Linked DNA regions of Homo sapiens: all the other regions are linked to region 7. Evidence: promoter capture Hi-C in 16 types of primary human blood cells and fetal thymus (Javierre and others, 2016). All regions are on one chromosome and are shown on one strand. Each heading gives the region's core, a stretch centred on a gene start or on the middle of the fragment in contact. The rest is flanking DNA. Distances are from core to core; before and after follow the strand shown. Region 1 overlaps SPAG9 (sperm associated antigen 9). Region 2 overlaps SPAG9 (sperm associated antigen 9). Region 3 overlaps SPAG9 (sperm associated antigen 9). Region 4 overlaps SPAG9 (sperm associated antigen 9). Region 5 overlaps ABCC3 (ATP binding cassette subfamily C member 3). Region 6 overlaps SPAG9 (sperm associated antigen 9). Region 7 holds the start of WFIKKN2 (WAP, follistatin/kazal, immunoglobulin, kunitz and netrin domain containing 2).

The links. Contacts are between HindIII fragments. The CHiCAGO score rates a contact against its expected background, and 5 or more counts as called.
Region 1: a fragment that was not itself captured here is called in contact with the fragment with the promoter of WFIKKN2 in region 7 in 2 of 17 cell types (total CD8 T cells and neutrophils); the score reaches 7.1 in total CD8 T cells.
Region 2: a fragment that was not itself captured here is called in contact with the fragment with the promoter of WFIKKN2 in region 7 in 5 of 17 cell types (activated CD4 T cells, total CD8 T cells, naive CD8 T cells and 2 more); the score reaches 8.2 in activated CD4 T cells.
Region 3: a contact is called between a fragment that was not itself captured here and the fragment with the promoter of WFIKKN2 in region 7, in 4 of 17 cell types (non-activated CD4 T cells, total CD8 T cells, total CD4 T cells and 1 more). The highest score is 5.7, in non-activated CD4 T cells.
Region 4: a fragment that was not itself captured here is called in contact with the fragment with the promoter of WFIKKN2 in region 7 in 3 of 17 cell types (naive CD8 T cells, total CD8 T cells and activated CD4 T cells); the score reaches 6.4 in naive CD8 T cells.
Region 5: a fragment that was not itself captured here is called in contact with the fragment with the promoter of WFIKKN2 in region 7 in 3 of 17 cell types (naive CD4 T cells, fetal thymus and activated CD4 T cells); the score reaches 6.0 in naive CD4 T cells.
Region 6: a fragment that was not itself captured here is called in contact with the fragment with the promoter of WFIKKN2 in region 7 in 1 of 17 cell types (naive CD8 T cells); the score reaches 6.0 in naive CD8 T cells.

The regions. Positions count from the first base shown.
Region 1 is chr17:51,016,207-51,019,141 of GRCh38, reverse strand. All of the region lies in intron 8 of SPAG9 (sperm associated antigen 9), which reads left to right. Among named protein-coding and RNA genes, the nearest start is that of SPAG9, 100 kb to the left of the region's middle. The HindIII fragment of the contact is 6,365 bases long and covers 1-2,935 here.
Region 2 is chr17:51,068,121-51,071,221 of GRCh38, reverse strand. The region is part of intron 2 of SPAG9 (sperm associated antigen 9); the gene reads left to right. Among named protein-coding and RNA genes, the nearest start is that of SPAG9, 51 kb to the left of the region's middle. The HindIII fragment of the contact is 1,413 bases long and covers 970-2,382 here.
Region 3 is chr17:50,998,982-51,001,993 of GRCh38, reverse strand. SPAG9 (sperm associated antigen 9) reads left to right here. Exons shown (of 30, transcript NM_001130528.3): 13 at 149-279; 14 at 2,277-2,333. Among named protein-coding and RNA genes, the nearest start is that of SPAG9, 120 kb to the left of the region's middle. The HindIII fragment of the contact is 2,874 bases long and covers 115-2,988 here.
Region 4 is chr17:51,086,709-51,090,139 of GRCh38, reverse strand. All of the region lies in intron 1 of SPAG9 (sperm associated antigen 9), which reads left to right. Among named protein-coding and RNA genes, the nearest start is that of SPAG9, 32 kb to the left of the region's middle. The HindIII fragment of the contact is 6,447 bases long and covers 1-3,431 here.
Region 5 is chr17:50,650,854-50,653,910 of GRCh38, reverse strand. All of the region lies in intron 1 of ABCC3 (ATP binding cassette subfamily C member 3), which reads right to left. Among named protein-coding and RNA genes, the nearest start is that of ABCC3, 18 kb to the right of the region's middle. The HindIII fragment of the contact is 458 bases long and covers 1,545-2,002 here.
Region 6 is chr17:51,044,368-51,047,510 of GRCh38, reverse strand. SPAG9 (sperm associated antigen 9) reads left to right here. Exons shown (of 30, transcript NM_001130528.3): 4 at 42-136. Among named protein-coding and RNA genes, the nearest start is that of SPAG9, 75 kb to the left of the region's middle. The HindIII fragment of the contact is 196 bases long and covers 1,415-1,610 here.
Region 7 is chr17:50,834,262-50,837,569 of GRCh38, reverse strand. It overlaps WFIKKN2 (WAP, follistatin/kazal, immunoglobulin, kunitz and netrin domain containing 2), which reads right to left and starts at 1,984. Exons shown (of 2, transcript NM_175575.6): 1 at 1,423-1,984. The coding sequence starts at 1,632. The HindIII fragment of the contact is 3,752 bases long and covers 347-3,308 here.

The DNA.
Region 1 (2,935 bases), core at 388-2,887, 180 kb before region 7:
CTGGAGGGGAGGAACTCTGTGTCTTCACATAGAAGAAGGACAAGTGAGCCCTGAACACTGGATAAAGCCTCATTATTCTATAAGGACCCCAATCCTGTTTATAAGGGAGAAGCCCTTATGGCCTAATCACCTCTTGAAGGCCCCATCTTAATACTATCACATTGGCAACAGCTGAATTTTATAGGGGACACATTCAAACTATAGCAGATAGGGGAAAAAAGACAGCCAAGACATATCCCATACTTTCTGTAACTTGAAAAAACCAAGAAGCGGGAGTGAAGGAAGTAACAGAGTGGACATGGCAGGGCTGGCAGCGGTGCTACTTTGAGGGCATGAAACACACCGTTGGCTATGGAGCATGCTTATTTTAGGGCCAGCAGCCGGGTACTCCAGCCTGCCGGACACTTCAGTCCAGCCCCCTCCTGACTGGGGCTTGTTACTCACAAGATTGCATTGTCCCGGACACTAACTTGGGTCCAGGGCCCCTCCCCCTAGCACTTACCTGGAGTTTGTGCATGTTTCCTGCTGCTGGGTGGGTTCAGAAGGTGATTTCTTTTTTATGTGTACATATGCTAAATAAATGTGATTTAAAAAACAAAACAAAAAAGTTTGAACAAACTTTTGTACCTTCCACCAGATCAGGAAGAGAGAATGTACTTCCATCTTGAGAAGTGTAATCTCATTATTGGAAGAAATTAGTCTCATTTTGGTATCATTTTACATGGGAAGGCTGTTTAGTGGTAGGAAGAAAATAGTTAGATCTCATCTTTTTTTTTTTGAGATGCAGTCTTGCTCTGTCGCCTAGGCTGGATGCAGTGGTGCTATCTCAGCTCACTGCAACCTTCACCCCACTCCCACCCCCACCCCCTCCCCCGGGTTCAAGCGATTCTCTCACCTCAGCCTCCCAAGTAGCTGGGACTGCAGGCACACACTGGGCTACTTTTTGTATTTTTAGTAGAGATGGGGTTTTACCATGTTGGCCAGACTGGTCTTGAACTTTGAACTCCTGAGCACCAGTGATCCGCCTGCCTCAGCCTCCCAAAGTGCTGGGAGATTAGATATCATCTTAATCAGGATTATCCAAAATACATTGATGCTCAAGAATGTCAGACAGGAGCTACTGCCTTTCTTTTCATTTCTTCCATAAAGTTGATCCTTTAATTAATTAATGACTATAAAAATACAAGCCATTTATTGATCTCTGTTAAGCATTGTGCAGTCAGTACTCTGTAGCGGTTAAAAGCATAGACCCTAGAGTAAGACTGCATGGGTTCAAATCCTGTCTTGGATTTGAATCTTAGGTATGTTTTCTCATTTATAAAACAGCTTTGTGTTAATACCTCAGATGGTTGTGAGGATTAAATGAATCAATATATGATAAATCATTGCAAAATGCCCCATTCAATAAATGTTAAGTAATATTGTTTTCATCATGATTTTATATAATTTGATCCTAATTACAACCTTATGAGGTAGATCTTTTTATCCTTATTTTATAAATAAAGAGACTTAGAACTTGTTCAAAGTAGCTTGTCCCAGATTACCAAGCTAGCAAGAGGTGGACTTGGGATTCAAATCCAGAACCCTCTGTCTCTCTCTCTCTCTCTCTCTCTCTCTCTCTCAGACAGGTTCTCATTCTGTCGCCACTCTTCTTCCTGGATCCTACATCACCCTGCTTCTTGATTTATGCCTTTGTTTTGACAGAGCATATCCTTACTAGCTTTCTGGGTAAAGGGTGCACAACTCTATCACTTCTTAGCTCTCTCTTATGCTGTTTGTCTTCAGGTATCTAAAATAACATGTTCGTCCTGCCCCTCCTTCATCCCTCCCTTTTTCAGCTGAGATTCTGTGAGAAAATGTAGTCCTAATGCCCTAAGGCATCTCTTGTATATAATGAATTAGCTATGCTCCTGTGCGTCTAGAATAGGATTCTAGGTATGTACTTACCTTGGGAGAATGGAAAAAATACTCACTTAAATCCTTTTCTGTATTTTGTAGATCAAATACGGAACCCTGGTTGAAAAAGGCTGTGATGCTAGCTGTTGGCTTTCTGTAGTAGATGAGGATATAATGCCTAAACCACCATCCTTTCATCCTCCTAATATTATATATTTCAAATTCTGTTAGTTAAATTCATTATTTATATCAGTATGACTATATAAAATTAATCTGTAATTCTACTTAGCCACAGAATACAGTATAATTACATTTCATTTATTTTTTTATTTTTTTCCCTCCTCCGAGACGGAGTCTCGCTTTGTCGCCCAGGCTGGAGTGCAGTGGTGTGATCTCGGCTCACTGCAACCTCTGCCTCTCAGGTTCAAGCAATTCTCCTGCCTCAGCATCCTAATTGGGATTACAGGCGTGAGCCACCATGCCTGGCTAATTTTTGTATTTTTAGTAGAGACGGGGTTTCACCATGTTGGTCAGGCTGGTCTCAAACTCCCGACCTCATGATCCACCCGCCTTGGCCTCCCAGTGCTGGGATTACAGGCGTGAGCCACTGCTACGGCCCATTTCATTTCTTTTACAACTTTTTGTTCTTCTGAAATTAATAAAGCCTTGGGTTATTTTGTTTCTTTTCCTTATGTTTCTGTGGACCTGTTACTAAATCACTGGCAGACACTATGCAATTCATAAATGTAAAAGTCCCCAATATGACCAAACACAAAACCTGCCTGTTTCCTAGGGCTTACTCTCCTGCAGCCTCCTATTCCCATTCTCCAATTGAGACTGCTGTCATATTTGTTCTGGTTCTGGAATATGCCCTCACTATCATCCCTGGAATTCTTTTCACCTTTCTCCTCTGTTGTATCTTTTGTTTCCTGGATGCCACATCATCCTGCTTCTTGATTTATGCCTTTGTTTTGACGGAACATATCCTTACTAGGTTTCCTGGCAAAGGGTGCATGACAAGTAAATTTTTTTTTTTTGA
Region 2 (3,101 bases), core at 427-2,926, 230 kb before region 7:
AAAATTTGAGTCAAGCAAGTATAGATATTTTAATACAGTTGAAAATATTAAACTGGTCCAGTATGCCTAGCATTCTGCCTAGGTATGGTTGTGGTACACAAGAGTATGATATGGTCCTTGTGGTTAAAGAAATCATAGTTTAGTGGGGGGAGGAAGGGGAAGATTATGCGTATGGCCTACTAGTCTTTTTCCCATATATATTATATTTTTATATCATTGTGGTTAGGATGTATATTTAATTTTGTATCTTTTCCTTAACATTATCATAAGTATTTTTCCTTGTTGTATAATCTTCATTATTATTTTTATGTCCACATAAATCCACCATCCAGAAGCTATGCCATCTATTAACAATTTTTGTTTTCCCTGAGGACTATGCTTTATTTTTTCCTCTAATGAGAATTATTTAATGGCCACTGTGTTTTTTACCATGGCAGCCCAGAAACAGAACAAACGTTGAAATGCAACCATAACAACTAGTTTGAACCTTACCTGGTTGGCATATTTAAATTGTTTTTTTTCTTGATCCACGTTTTATACATGTATAATTAATATATTATGCTCTATTGTAAACTGTCTCAAATCCTTTGTGGAATGAAGAGGTGAATCAGGGTAAAATAAATGTAAGAAATTTAAAATAAAAAAACCAAAAACTTCTGTTGGTTGGTTGGTCATTTTTTCTGGTATACTGAATCATATTGCAGTAAATATTTTTTTACATCTACAAGTTTTCCCTTCTATTGGTAGTTTTCTTAGAATATATTTAAGGAAGTAGGTCAAAGAATTTTAGTGCTTTTTGGCATATAATAGTTTGGCCATTTCTAATGTCAATAGAATTGGAGAAGTAAGGGTTAGTAGTAAATTCCATTTTGCTTGTCATAACTTATGAATTTGAAGCATTATTTACAGCATATTAGCACACAGAGCTGATATAGAATCATTTATTATTTGATTCTCTCTTAGGAAGCTTCTGTTGCCCTCAGGCTCCTTGGATTTACAACTTATTCTTCCCTGAGTATAGAGCCATTGCCTTTTGTGGAGAAGATGAAAAGATTTAGATGACAGTGATATTTTTTTTTTAGTGAGTACTTCTTAATTTGGTGGCTATGTTTTTTGGGGAGTACAGGTTTTTTTTTTGTTTTTTTTTTTAAGAGATGAGGGTCTAATTCCTGTGTTTAAGTGATCCTCCCACCTCAGCCCTCCCGTGAGGGAGCCCACCTCAGGTGCATGCCACTGCACCCGTGGCTGTGATTTTAAGCTGTTATATTTAGACTCTTCTTTAATTCCGCCCTTCCTTCCTTTAAATGAAAATTCGTCTTTTTGAATTAAATGGAAAAATGTTGTTGGCACTGAAGTCAAATGTGTTAGATCCTTATACTTTGACCTTTCTACCTTTTTTGTCCCCCATGTAACATTCCTTTGCTTTTTACATCTTGTGTCAGGATCTTAGTCTAGTAAAATACCTGCAAGCCTTCACTTTGAAACATTATTATTAGAAGGAAAACACTTCTTATTTCTTGGTCATAAGAATAAGCACTCCACTAGATAGAAAGTTGGGGGAGATATTAACATAAACAATAACATAATTTTTATTTTAAAGGAATGTTTAAATTTTATTTAATTAATTAAATTTATTTAAAGGAATTAAATAAGGCTTAAAACAGACCTTCAACACAAGGTGATTGATAAATTAAGAATTTTCACAGCACATAAACCATTTTAAAGTTGCCAAGTATCATTTCATATCAAAGTTAATATTTGAGAGAGCCTAAATATTTTCTGTCGCTGTTTTTCAAATCACCTAAAAAAATACATTCAGGCTTGTACAAAACTTTATCAGATCCTTTACTGTGCTTTGTGATTAGCAATGAATGTTAGTATTTTGAAAAAATTAAATAATACTGTAATAGGACACTTTTTCCACTTTAGTTCTATGTCAATAGGCAATTCCTTCTACATAATTTTAAGAATGATAAAAGTAGATTACGAAGATTTATATATATATATTTTAATGATGATATGTGTTTTTGTTGAAAGTTTTTTTAATGAGGCAGCTTTAGGAGTTTGAATTATATCTTTTGGTTTTAAAAGAATGACAAGTTAATTATTTAGAAAGCTACTTTTAGTCTGTTTAATCAGAATCTAGTTCTTTGCAATACTAAGAATATCTATATATTTAATAAACAATATATATCAGCTGTTTCTTATTTAGAGCCTACATATGAGTGGGAAAGTAGAAAATTAGGCACAAGATAGTTTTTGCAAACACTAACATTACTTCTGCTTCATTAGGTAATACTTGTGGTCTTTAGCTGTTTTATGTTTTATTATCTGTATTTGGGCTCTTTCATTTTTGAGTCTAGTGTTGTCTATTGAGAAGCTTAAAGTTGTAATTTATAATTAATATCTAGAACTAAAGGTATCAGAAAATTAAGTTTATGAGTAAAAGTTAAAGGATTTCTGGTGATTTGCTTAGAGAACAGGGAAAATACGAATAATTTGATTATTCTTTCAAACATATAAAGGGATGGATAAGGAGTGTAGCAAGCTGTTTGTCTGTTATTTTGGAAGATTAAGTGAGAGAAAATGAATTTTTTGGCTTTGGTTGGTCATGAGGAAGTATTTCTTGGCCATGAGGGTGATACACAGGAATATGTGCAGAGGTTAAGCGTGGACTGTCCCTACGTAGAGACTTTAGGTAGGAGAATCATCAGCTTTGTTGTGGATGGCTTAAGTAACATCTTCAAGACAGGGAACTGTCAGATCACTAGAAGTTTCTACCGCTGGGATTCTTTGAAGTTATCCTACTCTGTTTTGAGAATATGATCATTGATTCATGATAGCTTTAAAATATGTATAATTTCACATTGTGTCATTGATTAATAACATATAATATCTGAAAATTTTTTGAAGTTGAGAGACATGGTAAAGGACTTAGTTGGTGAGGAGAGGTTGTTATTACTGTTTTGATGTGGTTGTCTGAGATTTCTTTGCTCTTAAGTCAGCCTTGCTTACCTGTTGGGACTTCTGATGCTAAATTGTTCAAGGAGAAGTTTCTGAAAGACCACATGTCAATCTTCTGAGGCCCAGCAACAGTTGGA
Region 3 (3,012 bases), core at 302-2,801, 160 kb before region 7:
GTTTTTATAAAGCCATTTTTCTTTAAATGATCTACTAGATTAAAAATTAAGGAATGCTTAAAAACTGAAAGATTTTGCATAACTCTGAGATGAACACCAAGACATTTATAAGCTTCCAGAATGATATGTCATTTTCTTGTCATTATAGAGTGATATTCCCACAGCCCAGAGGAAACGGTTTACTAGAGTAGAAATGGCCCGTGTTCTCATGGAGCGAAACCAGTATAAAGAGAGATTGATGGAGCTTCAGGAAGCTGTTCGATGGACAGAGATGATTCGGTTTGTATGACAAGCGCTCCATTATTTTCCTACTATTATTTTGTAGGTTTGAATATTCCTTCATGTGGAACTTAAGTCCTGCCCTGTAAGATCCAAGCCCCTTTCTCTGTTTACTAGGAGAGACTTTTTAAAGTAACACTCAGAATTAGCAACAGAATGTGATCAAAGGAGGTGCTTTTTGGGCCAGTAAGGGATCTTGGAGGATGTTACTACGACCTCTAAAAGGCAATTATTATTACTTAGGAATGATGGTCATTTTTCAAATATAGAAATCAATACTACTTACCCAGTAATGTCAGGAAAAGATCACAATTTCATATGCAACACAGGAAAATAAATTATTTTGACTCAGTGTCTTTCTGTAAAATACTCTTGCTTGATTTCTTTCTCTCTTTTCTAACTGTTCATGCCAAGTACACCCTTCCATTGGTATCTTTCAGTCAGATGGCTCTTAAATCTCACCCAATGCTGCCATCTAATGGTTGTAGTCTCAGTAATAGTGTTTCTTTAATTTAGAAAGAACTGAAAAGTTTGTAAATGAGCTGCCCCCTAATTTACCCATATTTTTGAGTTTGGATTGTCATATCAGATTTACCAATAATAGTATGCATTGACATGTTGTTTTTAAGTTTATGAACACATTCTCTAATTGCCAACTTTTACTTCTTTAGGATTACATCATTTATTTCACAGTTTATGTACCCTTTACCAATGTTATATTAGAATCAAGTGTTTTAACATATCATTTTACAATTTGCTGTGATAGTAATTGCTTATAACTGCCCATAAGGAAGATCAGTATTCTAATCTATATTTATTAGACAAGGAAACTAACCCACTAGAAAGTGTATGTTCTTAACTGCAGTATTTAGTGGATATCGAATAAATAATAAGTAAATATTCAAAAAACTGAAAGTGGACCTTATTTATTTATTTATTTATTTATTTATTTATTTATTCATTCATTTATTGAGATGGAGTCTTGTGATGGAGTCTTGCTCTGTGCCCAGGCTGGAGTGCAGAAGTGTGATCTCGGCTCACTGCAACCTCCACCCCCTGGGTTCAAGCAGTTCTGCCTCATCCTCCCTGGTAGCTGGGTTTCCAGGTGTGCGCTACCATGCCCAGCTAATTTTTGTATTTTTTAGTAGAGACAGGGTTTCACCATGTTGGTCAGGCTGGTCTCGAACTTTTGACCTCAAGTGATCCGCCCGCCTCGGCCTCCCAAAGTGCTGGGATTACAGGTGTGAGCCACTGTGCCCAACTGGACTTCACTTTCCATTGCTGTTTTTAACTCTAGCAGCCAAGTGGTAGTCAACAAATTAAAGGAAATAGTAGCTTACTTTTAACTACTTCACTGAAGTAAAGAATGTTTTTAATTTAGTTCATAACAAAAAAGTAGTGAAAAGAGAGCTCTGATTATGATGGCAGAATCCCTACCACCTCATAAATCAATTTGGAATATCTTATTTTCTGAAATTTTGTTGAATCACCTGTCAATCCAGTTTATCCTCTTCCCTGCTGTGGTCATCTTTCCAGTGATGGAAAAGTTTTAGTCTTGTGAAAAATGACCCCTCAGGATGCCAAAGTTTCAAGCTATTTTGTGAGAGCTCCGAGTATAGATGATAGAGACTTTTATGTAAAGATGGGAATTTACAAGGCAATATTTTAATAAAAGGGAAAGTTAGAGGGTATCTTTTCAATAAAAAATTTTAAATATCATTCAGGCATGTTGGCTGTCTAGCACATATTACAGTCCTCTGTCGGTAGACTAAGCTCTTTGAGGGAGGGATGATATTTTATTTTTCTTAGTAGAATTAAAGTCAATCTTTAGCAGATTGACTGACACATGGTAGGTCAAAGTAACTACAGTATTTATTGAACTTAATTGTTGACTCCCCTCTGTGTATCCCATGAACTTCTTGGGTCTCTTGTTCTTCAGAAAGAAAGGTAGAATACCTCACTGATAAATGTTTCTTTTCTTTTCTTTTTGAATGTAGGGCATCACGAGAAAATCCAGCCATGCAGGAAAAAAAAAGGTCAAGCATTTGGCAGTTGTAAGTATTGAAAAACAAAGATGTTAGACAGCACATGAGACAAGAAAATTACAGTCAAAATTTATTTCCAAGAATGATTTTATGTCCATTTTCTTTCCTTCATTTTTTTTTTTTAAACTAGGGGTAATGGTTAAGTAGCTAAACTGAACTTTTTTTTTTTTTTTAATATATAGTGTGCCAACTCGGTAAGGCTCTTCTCAAGGACAAAAAATATGATATCGTAAGCTGCATCATGTTGACTGTGCATTTGTTGCAATCCTCTGCCAAATTTAAATAATGGGGAATTATTTAGAGACTTGAAAATGACCTGGATCCCCATTAAATAAGTTTCTGATTGGCTGGTTTTGTGATTGTAAGAAACTTTACAAAGTGAAGATGAGAAATTTAGTGCTTGTAGGGTTTGAGTAATATTGTGTATGTATTGAGCTTGAGTTATGTTTGTGCTAGAAGTACTATGTGTTTACTGTGATTAAAACTTACCCTTTTTTGGTGAATCTGCTATTTAATGGAAGTGTCAATTAAAAAAGAAATAGACCCGAAAGTAGTTGTTTAAATTGAGCTTAATCAGAAAATGTATAAAATGTGTGTTAACATGGTAATATGTGTTCCAGTACTTGATTATAATAAGCTGTTTTTAGAACTGGCATACTAAGCTTCCATTCACATCACACAGCCATAA
Region 4 (3,431 bases), core at 244-2,743, 250 kb before region 7:
AATGGTGAATTGTAGTTACCTGGGCATGCCATGATCTTTAGACGTTTGCATGTGCTGTGACCTCTGCCTGGAATGTCTTTATCTCAGTAAAGGTTTTAGGCAAACCATTCCTTTTAGAGTAAGCTAAAATGACTTCTCTCTTTTTTAAAAAAATAGTATATATGGCCGGGCACGGTGGCTCACGCCTGTAATCCAGCACTTTGGGAGGCTAAGGCAGGTGGATCACCTGAGGTCAGGAGTTCGAGACCAGCCTGGCCAACATGGTGAAACCTTGTCTCTACTAAAAATACAAAAAATTAGCTGGGCATGGTGGTGGGTGCCTGTAATCCCAGCCACTCGTGAGGCTGAGGCAGGGAGAATTGCTTGAATCTGGTAGGCAGAGGTTGCAGGGAGCCAAGATCATGCCACTGCACTCCAGCCTGGGTCACAGAGCGAGACTCCATATCAAAAAAAAGAAAGTGTGTGTGTGTATGTGTATATATATATATATATATATATATATATATATATATATATATAAAATAAAGTGTATATATATACATATAATAAGTAGATATACACATATATATTATAATTATATATATATAATTTTATTTCAATATTTTTTGGGGAACAGGTAGTTTTTGGTTACATGGATAAGTTCTTTAGTGGTGATTTCCGAGATTTCGGTGCACCTGTCGACTTCTTTTTTGTTTGTTTGTTTTTTTGTTTTTTTGAGACAGAGTTTCACTCTTGTTGCCCAGGCTGGAGTGCAATGGCACAGTCTCACCTCAGTGCAACCTCTACCTCTTGGGTTCAAGTGATTCTCCTGCCTCAGCCTTCCAAGTAGCTGGGATTACAGGTGCCCACCACCAGGCTCAGCTAATTTTTGTATTTTTAGTAGAGACAGGGCTTTACCATGTTGGCTAGGCTGGTCTCGAACTCCTGACCTCAGGTGGTCCACCTGCCTCGGCCTCCCAAAGTGCTAGGATTACAGGCATGAGCCACCGTGCCTGGCCCAACTTCTGTTTTTTTTTTGTGTGTGTGTGTTTTGTTTTGTTTTGTTTTTGAGACAGAATCTCCCTCTGTTGCTCAAGCTGGAGTGCAGTGGCGCAATCTCGCTCACCGCAACCCCTGCCTACCAGGTTCAAGTGATTCTCCTGCCTCAGCCTTCCGAGTAGCTGGGACTACAGGCGGGTGCCACCTCGCCTGGCTAATTTTAGTATTTTTAGTAGATGCGGGGTTGCACCATGTTGGCCAGAGTGGTCTCCATCTCTTGACCACATGACCCACCTGCCTCGGCCTCCCAAAGTGCTGGGATTACAGGCGTGAGCAACTGTGCCCACCTCCCATTTTTTTTTTTGAGACGGAGTCTCACTGTGTTGCCCAGGCTGGAGTGCAGTGGCACGATCTCGGCTCACTGCAAGCTCTGCCGACCAAGTTCATGCCATTCTCCTACCTCAGCCTCCTGAGTAGCTGGGACTACAGGCGCCCGCCACCAAGTCCGCCTAATTTTTTTTGTATTTTTAGTAGAGACGAGGTTTCACCGTGTTAGCCAGGTTGGTCTCGATCTCCTGATCTCGTGATCTGCCCACCTTGGCCTCCCAAAGTACTGAGATTACAGGTGTGAGCCACTGTGTCCAGCCTTGACTTCCCTTTTTTAAAGCAGATTTAGTCACTTCTTCCTCTCTGCTTTCATTATAGCACTTAGCGTGTTACACTGTAAATGTTTATGATACGTCTTTGATGGCTCTCATACAGTGAGTACTCCTATTGGATGGGTGGGCAAAGAGTTTTAGTTTTATATTTAACATGTTATTTTATCTAAGAATAAGTCCTATGAATGACATTACCTAGTTTGTAGTAAATATCATCATGCTGCCTAACTGCCTAGCATTTGGAGAATAGGCATTGTGAATAGGTGTGTGGCTTAACTATTACAACAGCTTTTTCCTAGTCTCTTAACTATGACAAGTTTTTCTTTGACTACAGAGTGACGGACTGGGATGTTTCCTATTTTTGTTATCTCAGTTAGTGTGTTAAGTGGAAATTATAGAAGTAGAAGGCAGACATGTTTCTTTGAAGTAAATCAAGAAGACTTTAAAAAGAGGGTCAGGGCCAGGCATGGTCGCTCATGCCTATAATCCCAGCACTTTGGGAGGCTGAGGCAGGAGGATCGCTTGAGCTCAGGAATTCGAGACCAGGCTGGGCAACATGGTGAGACCTTGTCTCTACTAAAAATAAGAAATAAAAAAAATTTAGCTGGGTATAGTGGCACATGCCTGTAGTCCCAGCTACTCAGAAGGCTGAGGTGGGAGGATCGCTTGAGCCCAGGAAGTCGAGGCTGCAGTGAGCCATGATTGTACCACTTCACTTCCAGCCTGGATGACAGAACAACACCTCATCTCTAAAAAATAAGTAAATGAAAATTAAAAATTAAATTAAACAATAAAGAAGGTCAGCCATGCTTGTACTATACAAACCTAGTAATGAGGTTCAGCAGAACTCATGTGCTACCAGCCCAACTAAGATCTCTGAATGTAGAAGGGAAGCAGAAAGCCCTGAGAACTTTCTTTTTAGTGTAACCCATGCCACTCATTGCCCAAGTATTTTGTTGATAGTATGAAAAGGTTAGGTATAGAGACAAAGAAACTATTCTCATTACTTCCCTTATGCTATACCTCCAGCCTTCATCCAGGAAAAAAGAGGACTCTTACTAGGACCACGAATCCAAACCTTTTTCTGCCAAGAGCTGTATTTTGGCATCTGTTTGAATTTCATGACACCGTCTCTGTTTCTATTCCTGTTTTCTCATTCATAAATTCTTATATCAATGTTTCCCACTTTCACATGATTGCTAATTGCTATATAGAGCTATGCCATTTCTGAAGTATTTTTGTAATTATGAGTGTTCTGCTTTCTGAGCTATTCTACCCTACAGCAACTTCTGTTTATGAGGTTACCTATATTGTCAGGGATATTTCTCAAAACAGTGGCCCAAAACTAGACTATTTGATGGATATTTTTCTTGGATAGCAATTTAGAAACTTCCAGTCACTTGTTACTTTTTCTTGATTCTTGATTATTCTTTGAAAGTTAGTATTACATTTATCCTACTCAGCTTTCAGTGCCCTGTGTAAGCTATTAGGGATGTCTTATCAGAACTGAGGAACTTTTATTTTTGTTGCATATTAGTGATTAGCATTTTATTTTTTATTTTATTATTTTATTTATTTTTTGAGACGGAGTCTCACTCTGTCACCCAGGCTGGAGTGCAGTGGCACCATCTCAGCTCACTACAACTTCTGCCGCCTGGGTTCAAGCAATTTTCCTACCTCAGCCTCCCAAGTAGCTGGGATTACACACACCTGCCACCACGCCCAGCTAACTTTTGTGTTTTTAGTAGAGACTGAGTTTCACCATCTTGGCTAGGCTGGTCTTGAACTCCTGAC
Region 5 (3,057 bases), core at 524-3,023, 180 kb after region 7:
CAAAGTGCTTAGACCTGTCCAGATAAAGCAAATGCCGAGTTCTAAATAGGCTATTTCTATGTGTCACTTTTTTTCTCTCTGTAAGTACTACTTGACCACATGGTTAGGTGGAGTTCTTTGAGCCTTTACTGGTTTAGGTTTTTTTTTTTTTTCTTTTGAGATGGCGTTTCACTCTTGTTGCCCAGGCTGGAGTGCAATGGTGTGATCTTGGCTCACTGCAACCTCTGCCTCCCAGGTTCAAGCCATTCTCCTGCCTCAGCCTCCTGAGTAGCTGGGATTACAGGTGTGTGCCTCCACGCCCAGCTAATTTTTTTGTATTTTTAGTAGAAATGGGGTTTCATCATATTAGCCAGGGTGGTCTTGAACTCCTGACCTCAGGTGATCTGCCTGCCTCAGCCTCCCAAAGTGCTGGGATTACAGGTGTGAGCCACCACGCCCAGCCGAGTCTTTACTAGTTTAGCATGCTGCTGAATTCATGAATTGCTTATTTTTTCAAATAAGCTCTGCTAAATTTGTCTAAAGCTTTTCCTTTTTCTTTTTCTTTTTCTTTTTTTTTTTTTTTTTTTGAGACAGTCTCGCTCTTGGCCCCCACGCTGGAGTGTAATGGCGTGATCTCGGTTCACTGCAACCACCACCTCCCAGCTTCAAGCAATTCTCCTGCCTTAGCCTCCTGAGTAGCTTGGACTACAGGCGCCCACCACCATGCCTGACTAATTTTTGTATTTTTAGTAGAGATGGGGTTTCACCATGTAGGCCAGGCTGGTCTTGAACTCCTGACCTCAGGTGATCCACCCACCTCGGCCTCCCAAAGTGCTGGGATAACAGGCGTGAGCCACCGTGCCCGGCCTAAAGCTTTTCTTTTAACAGATTGGTGTCAGAAGTGGGATCGGAAGTAGAACTCCAGTGACCCTCAGGAGCATTTAGTGACCAAGTAAGGGTACCTGACAGGGCACACTGTGCCAATTGTTCTCTTGTAGCAACTGGAGGTCATGGGTGAGTTCTATCTCAGATTCCAAGCTTCAGGAATTTGTGTTTTGTGTTCTCCAAGTTTATTTGAACAATTCTTAGACTGGGTCAAGTAGGACTGGGTCCAGGAGCAAATCAGATCTGATAATTAACTGAAATGGATCCAGTTAAAAGCCTCAGGCAGGTGCCTTTTGAAAGTGAGTTCCTCCAAATCTAAGGAGTCTGGGACTCCAGAGTCTGAGACGCCACTTTCTGGGACGGTGGCTAACTTCATGAACAACAATTATGAGGAACATGTGTATTTTTGGAAAAATGGGTTAACTTTGCTGAGGACAACTTAAGAGTTACAGTGGCCACAGTGGGAAAGTTTTGACCTAGATAAAACTGTTCACTTGCAAGGTGCATTAGAAAAGAAAGGTTCAAAAATGCCACAAAAGCAATGGGATGCATTCTTTAATTGATACACAGAGGCATCTAAAAGATTAAATGAATAAAAAATTGCCTCTTTATAATAGGTTCCTTACAGAAATCAAACAAAAAAATCTTAAAAGCTCCTTCACGAATCTTATTCAAAAGCTTTAGTCATCTGGGCAAGAAATCTTGTTCCATTGGCCAGAAGAACAATTTGGATCCAGATAGTCTTTAATAAATTCAGGAGTTTTATATTACTGTACCTGGAACATGGCTAAGATATTTAAATGAAAGCTGTAAGATCTGTTGCTGTTTATGTTTATATAAGTCTGTATGTATGATACAGGTATCATAGTTTCTTATCTCCTTTTAATGCTCCAAAATTAAATTATGAAAGAGCTCTATTTTGTTGGCTTTAAGAAAAATAAGTGCTTGTATAAATGAAGTATTCTCTCAGAAAATTAAGAACTACCTCAAATACTTTTGCAGCTCATCTGACTTGGGTAATCTTTGGCAAATAAGAATATTGTTGGTTTGACTGAAACAGACATGTTTTCATAGTTTTGGGGATTAAATATCATAAAGATGCATGATTTCCTATCTAGGTTTACTGGTAAAACAAGCTTATGTTGTCTTTATATTATAAAATTTGTCAGCAAGAAAAACAAAATGATGACTAGTTGTTTATTATCTCATCTTTATAGGCAATCCAAGCATAAGTGTTGAAAATAAGTGAGTTAAATGAATGTAAGATAAAATTCCCATGTAAAAGATGTCCTTCCTATACCAGAAGGTTTTATTATTACTTTTTTGAAATAGGGTCTCTATCGCCTACTCTGGAGTGCAAGTGGCAAGATCTCGGCTCACTGCAACCTCTGCCTCCTGGGCTCAAGCAATCCTCCCGCCTCAGCCCCGCCAAAGTATCTGGGACTACAGACACAAGCTACCACATCCAGCTAATTTTTGTATTTTTTGTAGAGATGGGGTTTCACCATGTTGCCCAGGCTGGTCTCGAAATCCTGAGGTCAAGTGTTCCACCTGCCTCAGCCTCCCAAAGTGCTAGGATTACAGGCGTGAGCCACCACGCTCAGCCACCAGAAGGTTTTAACACTCTTAGCATCAAGAATAGAAAGTTGAGGAGGAGGGAAATCTGTACAAACAACAATTTAGTTTTCAGGCCTCACAAAACAAACAAACAAAAAACCTAAAGGGATACAAATGAAATTTTGCCTCCTTTACAGTTTATTTTTACAGAGAGACTTAAAGACATTTTGGACCATTGAGAAACATGTTCTGTGCCACACTGACAAATTGTACTATGAGAAAGCTCATGCTTCTAGACATTATGGTTCATAGATTTACCAATCTACAGCTGGTGTGACACACAATTCACAAATGCTTACTTTCTAATGTCCATGGAAATTAAGGTCACTAAGGGTTAAGAATTCTTTTTTTTTTTTTTTTTTTCTGAGATGGAGTCTCGCGCTGTCACCCAGGCTGGAGTGCAGTGGCTCAATCTTGACTCACTGCAACCTCCACCTCCTGGGTTCAGGTAATTCTCCTGCCTGAGCCTCCCCAGTAGCTGGGATTACAGGTGCCCGCCACCACGCCCAGCCAATTTTTGTATTTTTAATAGAGACAGGGTTTCAGCATGTCAGCCAGGCCGGTCTTGAACTTCTG
Region 6 (3,143 bases), core at 263-2,762, 210 kb before region 7:
TTAGCCTTAAATATTGTGTATTTTTTCTTTCTTTAAAATAGATGATCCATAATTATATGGAACATTTAGAAAGAACAAAACTTCATCAGCTCTCAGGGAGTGATCAACTAGAATCCACAGCTCATAGTAGAATTAGGTAAGCTTTGTTATATATTTTGCCTTGAGAAAAAGTAAAATAAATAATATGTTTGTTTCTGTTTTTCTCTGTTCTTTAATCCTGGAACAATAGTTAGGCTGATTCAAAAAGCTCTCCACTGTGGTTGGAATGCTGCAGGAGAGAATAGCACAGAAAAGTAGAAACGGTTTTTACCATTAAAAAGATAAATTATGAGCCATCCATATAAGCAGCACATTGAGTATTTAGATTGTTTTCTGATACTTGATGGAGATTATACTAGGTTTAAAATTTTGTAATTTATGGGAATGCTGAAATATTTTATTTCTCCCGTGTAATTGGTTTGAAGTCCTTTTTGTTACAGAGAGGCATGTTTGAAAGGGTTAGCTAGCCATCTGTTTGGTGTAGGAGTGTGAATAAATTATGTAGATCTTCAGGCATTGTAGCCAATGAGCTAAGCCAGGACTCTTAGTGGAGGGGAAAATAGTTAATAGGCTGGCTGTCGCTTGGGGTTGCTGCATAAATGCTAGGAGCAGCAGCTCTATGGTTATGAGGTGGGGAGAACGGAATGACGTCATCGCTTGGGAGCTGCTGCAGGATGGAGTGGAAAGCTGCTGCTGATGGCATTGTTTTTGTGGCAGCAAGCTGAATGACAGATCCTCACTACAAAGATACCCCTTTGGCCCCCGTGTAGGCCTCCTTGGTTCGGGTGTTTCACCATGCCAGCACAGCGCCATGAGTCCTGGATGCATGCTGCTGTTTGTGTTTGGCTTTGTTGGCGGGGCGGTGGTCATTAATTCTGCTATCTTAGTATCTCTCTCTGTTTTGCTGCTTGTGCACTTTTCTATTTCTACCGGTGTGCCAGCTCTGACGCAGAACCTACCAAGGATACTCAGGTACTCCCATCTCTCTTAGAAGCCCCTGCTTAGCTGGTTTTTATTAAATTTTTAGCTCAACGGGTCTGCTTTGTAACAATTTCTGTTGCAGATTGAAACAATGGAAAATGGCCTGAAGCTAGGATTTTTGATTCTAATTTATAGTAATTTATAGACCATCAGTTAGGATTATAGCTTTATGTTTGGAAACCACTAACTAAAGAAAAGGATTTTCATATTGTACTTACACACAAGTACAAGGTCAGTGTGGTCTTGTTTTAAGCAGAATGTTCAAAGTAAAAGAAGAGCAAGAGTAGAGCACCGGCTCCAAGTTTATACAACCTCTGCATTTAGCTTCTGAGCATTTAGGGACAAATATCTTTTATGCTTGGACTTGCAGTCAGTTAGATACAGGCCGTAAGCTTATTTTGTTTTAATTATCCTTTGAATGATAGAGTTTCAGGTATCATTTTTGTAATTTTTGATAATAGCTCATGGGAACTGACAATTTAAATATTTTCCTCCTAAAACAAAATATGTTTTAAAGTGAAAAAATTTAAGACTTTTAGGTTAAGGAATGCCTTTTTCCCCATTATTTACACATCAAAGTTGTGAAAGCTTTACAAAGCCTATTCACTATTGTTTTGTCAGATGTTGCCCTTTCTTTTCTTTGTAGTCTTGGGTGACAAATATCCATGCCTGCTTGTGGGGGTAGTCATTAATCTCTGTAGCTTTACTGTTGCTCACTCTACTTACACCCTGTAAGAGCCATCTTCTGTATTTTAGAGGCTTAAGGTTGTGGTTTCTTTTGTTTTCTAAACCGTCAGACTAGCAGTCTCTGATTTGTTCAGATTTCTGCTTTGTGCATGGTTTTAAATGAAAGTTCATAGTATATAGTTTTTATTTATTATTTAAATGTTTATAAAATATTTAAACCCTAATTGTAGATTTAGATAAATTAAGAAGAATTAAAGTAGTAACTTCCCTTAATGTGTTTCTTTTTATTCATAGGTCAGTTCAAGTTTAATATTAGTTGAAAGCCCAGAAATTAAATTTCATCAATGACTTAAAACTAGATACTTGGTCTTTTATTTTCTTTCCTGATTTATAAAAATTGGGAATAATCTTACTACTTGTATATATATTAGTACATAAAATATTTGTGTACGTGTATCTGTATATTTAGGCTTTGAAGAAATTAAAAGCAACTGAACTTAAGAATATGTAGAATATTAATATAAGACTAATGTTAAGGGGATGTCTTGGGTTTAGGCTTCATTTGAGAGGGCAGTGCCGTGAGCTGCTGTGCGGCGCCTGCAAGTGGGTACAACAAGGCTTTGGAATTGAACTGCCTGGGTGCAAATGCTCTATTGCACGTGGCCGTAGGAGCTTTGGCAAGTTGCTTAATCTCTCTGCCTGAGTTTTCTCTCCTGATGGGACTTACCCCGTTGGGTGGTTTTAAAAATCAAGTGATTTTATTATTTTGTATTTAATTATAGTTGTAAGATATATGGTAAATTACTTGAGTAAATAATTTTCAGTTACTTATATGTGTCCATTTTTAGCAGAAATTGTTTTAGCTACAGCTAAAATACCTTATAATTAAAATTTTAAAGTTCTTTACCACAAAAATTGCTACTGATCTGATTAAATAAAGATATCAAAGTCTTTGATATTAAGATTAAATTGTCAAAAAGTTGGTAGTTCCAAGTAGGAAGTTCCAAGGAAAGCAAAGGGCTTGGAATTGAACAGTACTGGCTTTGAATCGAAACTCTGCCAATTACTAGTGCCTAAAATCTCTGAGCATCACTTTTCCTACTCTGAAAAATTGGAAAAATAATCCCTGTTTCTTGATAAGGATTAAATGCGATAATGTAAATAAGTCATCTAGCTCAGTACCCACCACGTGGTGAGTGTTCAACAAATGTACTTTTTCTTTTATCTGCCTTTATATATAAAGCAGATTTTACTAATTAGTTGTATCAAATGTGAATATAGCCAAAAAGCTGTTCCAAAAATGTAGTTGTAAAATTATTTATATACATAAGCTAACATTTAATAACCAACTCAAAAATGGATATATGGAAGTAGGGCAATTAAGAAAAAAGAATTCTGATAGTTGTTGATAGCTTCGTTTTCTAGACAAGTAATAG
Region 7 (3,308 bases), core at 735-3,234:
TCCGTGCTGCCCTCAGAGCTGGCCAGACTGGGCAGGAAATAGCTCTGCCTGGAGCAGGTGTAGGTCCCACAGCCTGTTGCCCCAGAGGGGGTGGGCAGGAATGGCCCTCGGGAATGACTCGGGAGCTAGAAGAGAACTGGCCCTGCCCTGCAGCAGTGCCCTCTGATACAGAGCAGAAGGCAGGACCAAGGACGCTGGGAGGCTGAAACGTGGTCTCCTTCCTCCCAGGGACACCAGAGATCCATTCAGAGCTGCTCCTGCTTGGCCTGCCGTCAGCCTGGTCTTCTCTCAGGCTCAGGGTCCAAACTCCTGAGGAGGTGGCCTGGAGTCCAATGCAATCAAAGCTTTCTTGTTAGACATGAGTTCCAAGCTCATCGTTCCCTCACTGGCCATGACAACTGTGCCCTCCGTGCCTGGCTCTGTGTCCACTCTCTCACCTGTGAATGGGCTGCTGATGCCCACCATGCTGACATGTCATGCCAACATACACGACGTGCCCGGCACGGTGCTGGCCACAGTAGCCCTCAGCACGCATGAAGGAGGAATCCTCGGGCTCCAGTCCCTGATGAACTGGGACATCGCTCCCACCTCTCCTTCCAGGCTTCGGTGTTAATAGACAGGATGGTGCCCTGTTTCTCTCCAGGTGAACGGGGCCTGTGTTCCTTCACCTTCCTAGGACCTGCAGGGCACTCCTGCATGGTCCCCACCCTGTGGCTCCCACCCCCATCACTCACAGGCTCATATGGTCCATCTCTGGCTTCTGGACCCCACTCACCTGGTCCGCCTCACACTCCAGCTTCTGGATCCCACTCACCTGGTCCATCTCACACTGTGGCTTCTGGACCCCACTCACCTGGTCCACCTCATACTCCCACTTCTAGATCCCACTCACCTGGTCCGCCTCACACTCCAGCTTCTGGATCCCACTCACCTGGTCCATCTCACACTGTGGCTTCTGGACCCCACTCACCTGGTCCACCTCATACTCCCACTTCTAGATCCCACTCACCTGGTCCGCCTCACACTCCAGCTTCTGGATCCCACTCACCTGGTCCATCTCACACTGTGGCTTCTGGACCCCACTCACCTGGTCCGCCTCACACACCGGCTTCTGGACCCCACTCACCTGGTCAACCTCACACTCCCACTTCTAGATACCACTCACCTGGTCCATCTCACATTGCGGCTTCTGGACCCCATTCACCTGGTCTGCCTCACACTGTGGCTTCTGGATCCCACTCACCTGGTCCATCTCACACTCCTGCTTCCGGACACCACTCACCTGGTCCGCCTCACACTGTGGCTTCTGGACCCCACTCACGTTGTCCTCCTCACACTCCCACACAGTCCCTCCCCGACGGCTCCCACCCCCGTCACTCACAGGCTCACGTGGTCCATCTCTGGTCTCTGGACCCCACTCACCTGGTCCGTCTCACACTCCCGCCTGCAGGTGCTCTGTGCGTCCACCCAGAGGTTGGGATTCATGTCGTTGGGGCAGATGCCGGCGTGGGAATAGCGGATGGGCGGCAGCGCCAGGCTTCGCGGGGGCACCCCGAGCAGTAGCAGCAGCAGCAGCAGCGCTGCCACCTGCTCCCAGCGAGACCAGAACCGGCGACACCTTGGGGCCCACATGGTGCAGGCTGGGGCGGCTAGAGACCTCCCCTGAAACGATGCCAGGGTCTGGGGCCCACCAGGGCCTTCTTCTCAGGGGCTGCAGACACCTGCCCTCCCCACCCCAGCAGGTTTCCTGCTCAGGCTGCTGCTCAGGCTGCTCTGCCGCTGCTGCCTCCACCAAGTCAGCACAGCCTGCCGGGCTGTGCGGCTTCAGATAAAAGAAAGGTCTTTAGAAGGAAGCTCCCTCTCCTGAGTGTGCAGGGAGAGGAGCCACAGCAGGGGCCCGCGCCCGGATTTATATCCTGGGCGCGCCACCCGAGTGGGAGCCAGCTAACCTGATGCCTGTCACAGGCAGGCTGCTGGCGCCTCTGTCCCGTGGCTGATCACAGACTTATTGCAGAAGGGGGGAAAAAAAAAAAAAGAAGCTGGAAGCAGTTTAGGCAGCGTATCTGGCACGGTGGGACACCTGCTTGTTTTTGACTCCAGGAGGCCTTTAACCCCTTCAAGGGCCAGAAATGGCATGTGCTTTGCGGGGAGCTGGCTCCAGGACACGCAAGCTCACTCTGAAGGAGGGCTTGTTTCCCTTTCCCCCACCTCCTTGGGGCCGGGCCCCCTCCTCCCCTTTGGCCACCTCTAAAGAACACACAATCGCTTGTTACGAGGAGGGACCTGCAGCCACCGGGTTAGCATCGCCCGGCTTGATAGTACATTTGAGAGCAAATGACGTGGAAAAACAACAAGTTCACGGCCATTCCAGGGCGGGCCTGCGCCGCGCTGTGCCCTGTAAGCCGACTCCCACCCCGGCCCCGGCCCTTTGTGGGGGGTGTGCGCACGGACAGCTCTGTATCTCTGTGTCCAGGGCAGTTTGCGTCTTAAGTTCCAACTTCAGTTAATTTTCCCCAAATCATTCCAGAGACACATACCAGATATGCTCTGGCCCCGCCGGCGGCTGGGACGGATCACATTCCTCCCTCTTCCATCGACACACCGAGAAAACCTCCGCGGTCACAGTGTCTCAGGATTGTGCCGGAGTCCAGCTGCCCTCGCTGACGACCACAGTGGCTGCTCTTCAGTGAGCTCCTTCTGACTGCCAGCCTTGTCTGGCCTCCCCCACTTCCCAAAGGAGAAGGTCTGTGGTCGAAGAGGGCGAGCGACTTGTCCAAGGTCGCACAGAGTGAGCAGTCCTGGTGGTACCAGCTGCCAGATGCACTGGGCTCTTCACACGTGTGGCTTCTCTGAACGCATCATCTCATTTAATCCTCACAACAAACTGCACCTCCATTTCAGATCGGAGGAAAGGACGCACAGAGAGGCTAAGCAACCTGCCCATGTCGCACAGCTACCCCACCACGGTACAGGAAACAGGGACACCAGCTTGCTGGGTGTGGGCAGGGGCCTTTTAAAATCACCCCTCCCCCATCCATCTGCCAGAACTGCTGTCAAGGCACAGCCCAAACTCTGGTTTTCACAGACTGGACAAGAAATTTTTGAAACATCAGGGGCTATATTTGTGGAGGGGCCGGGAAGAGAGCCAGAAGCTGCCAGGGGCTGGGGGCGATTCCTCCCCCATTTGGCAGCAAATGGCTTCTATCTAAAATGCCACAGAGCAGCCTGCAGTCTGAGTGTTTTCGAGTTGGTCACTCGATCCTGGGGGTAGGGGGCGGAGGCACATAGAGCCCCGAAAGAGAGGTACC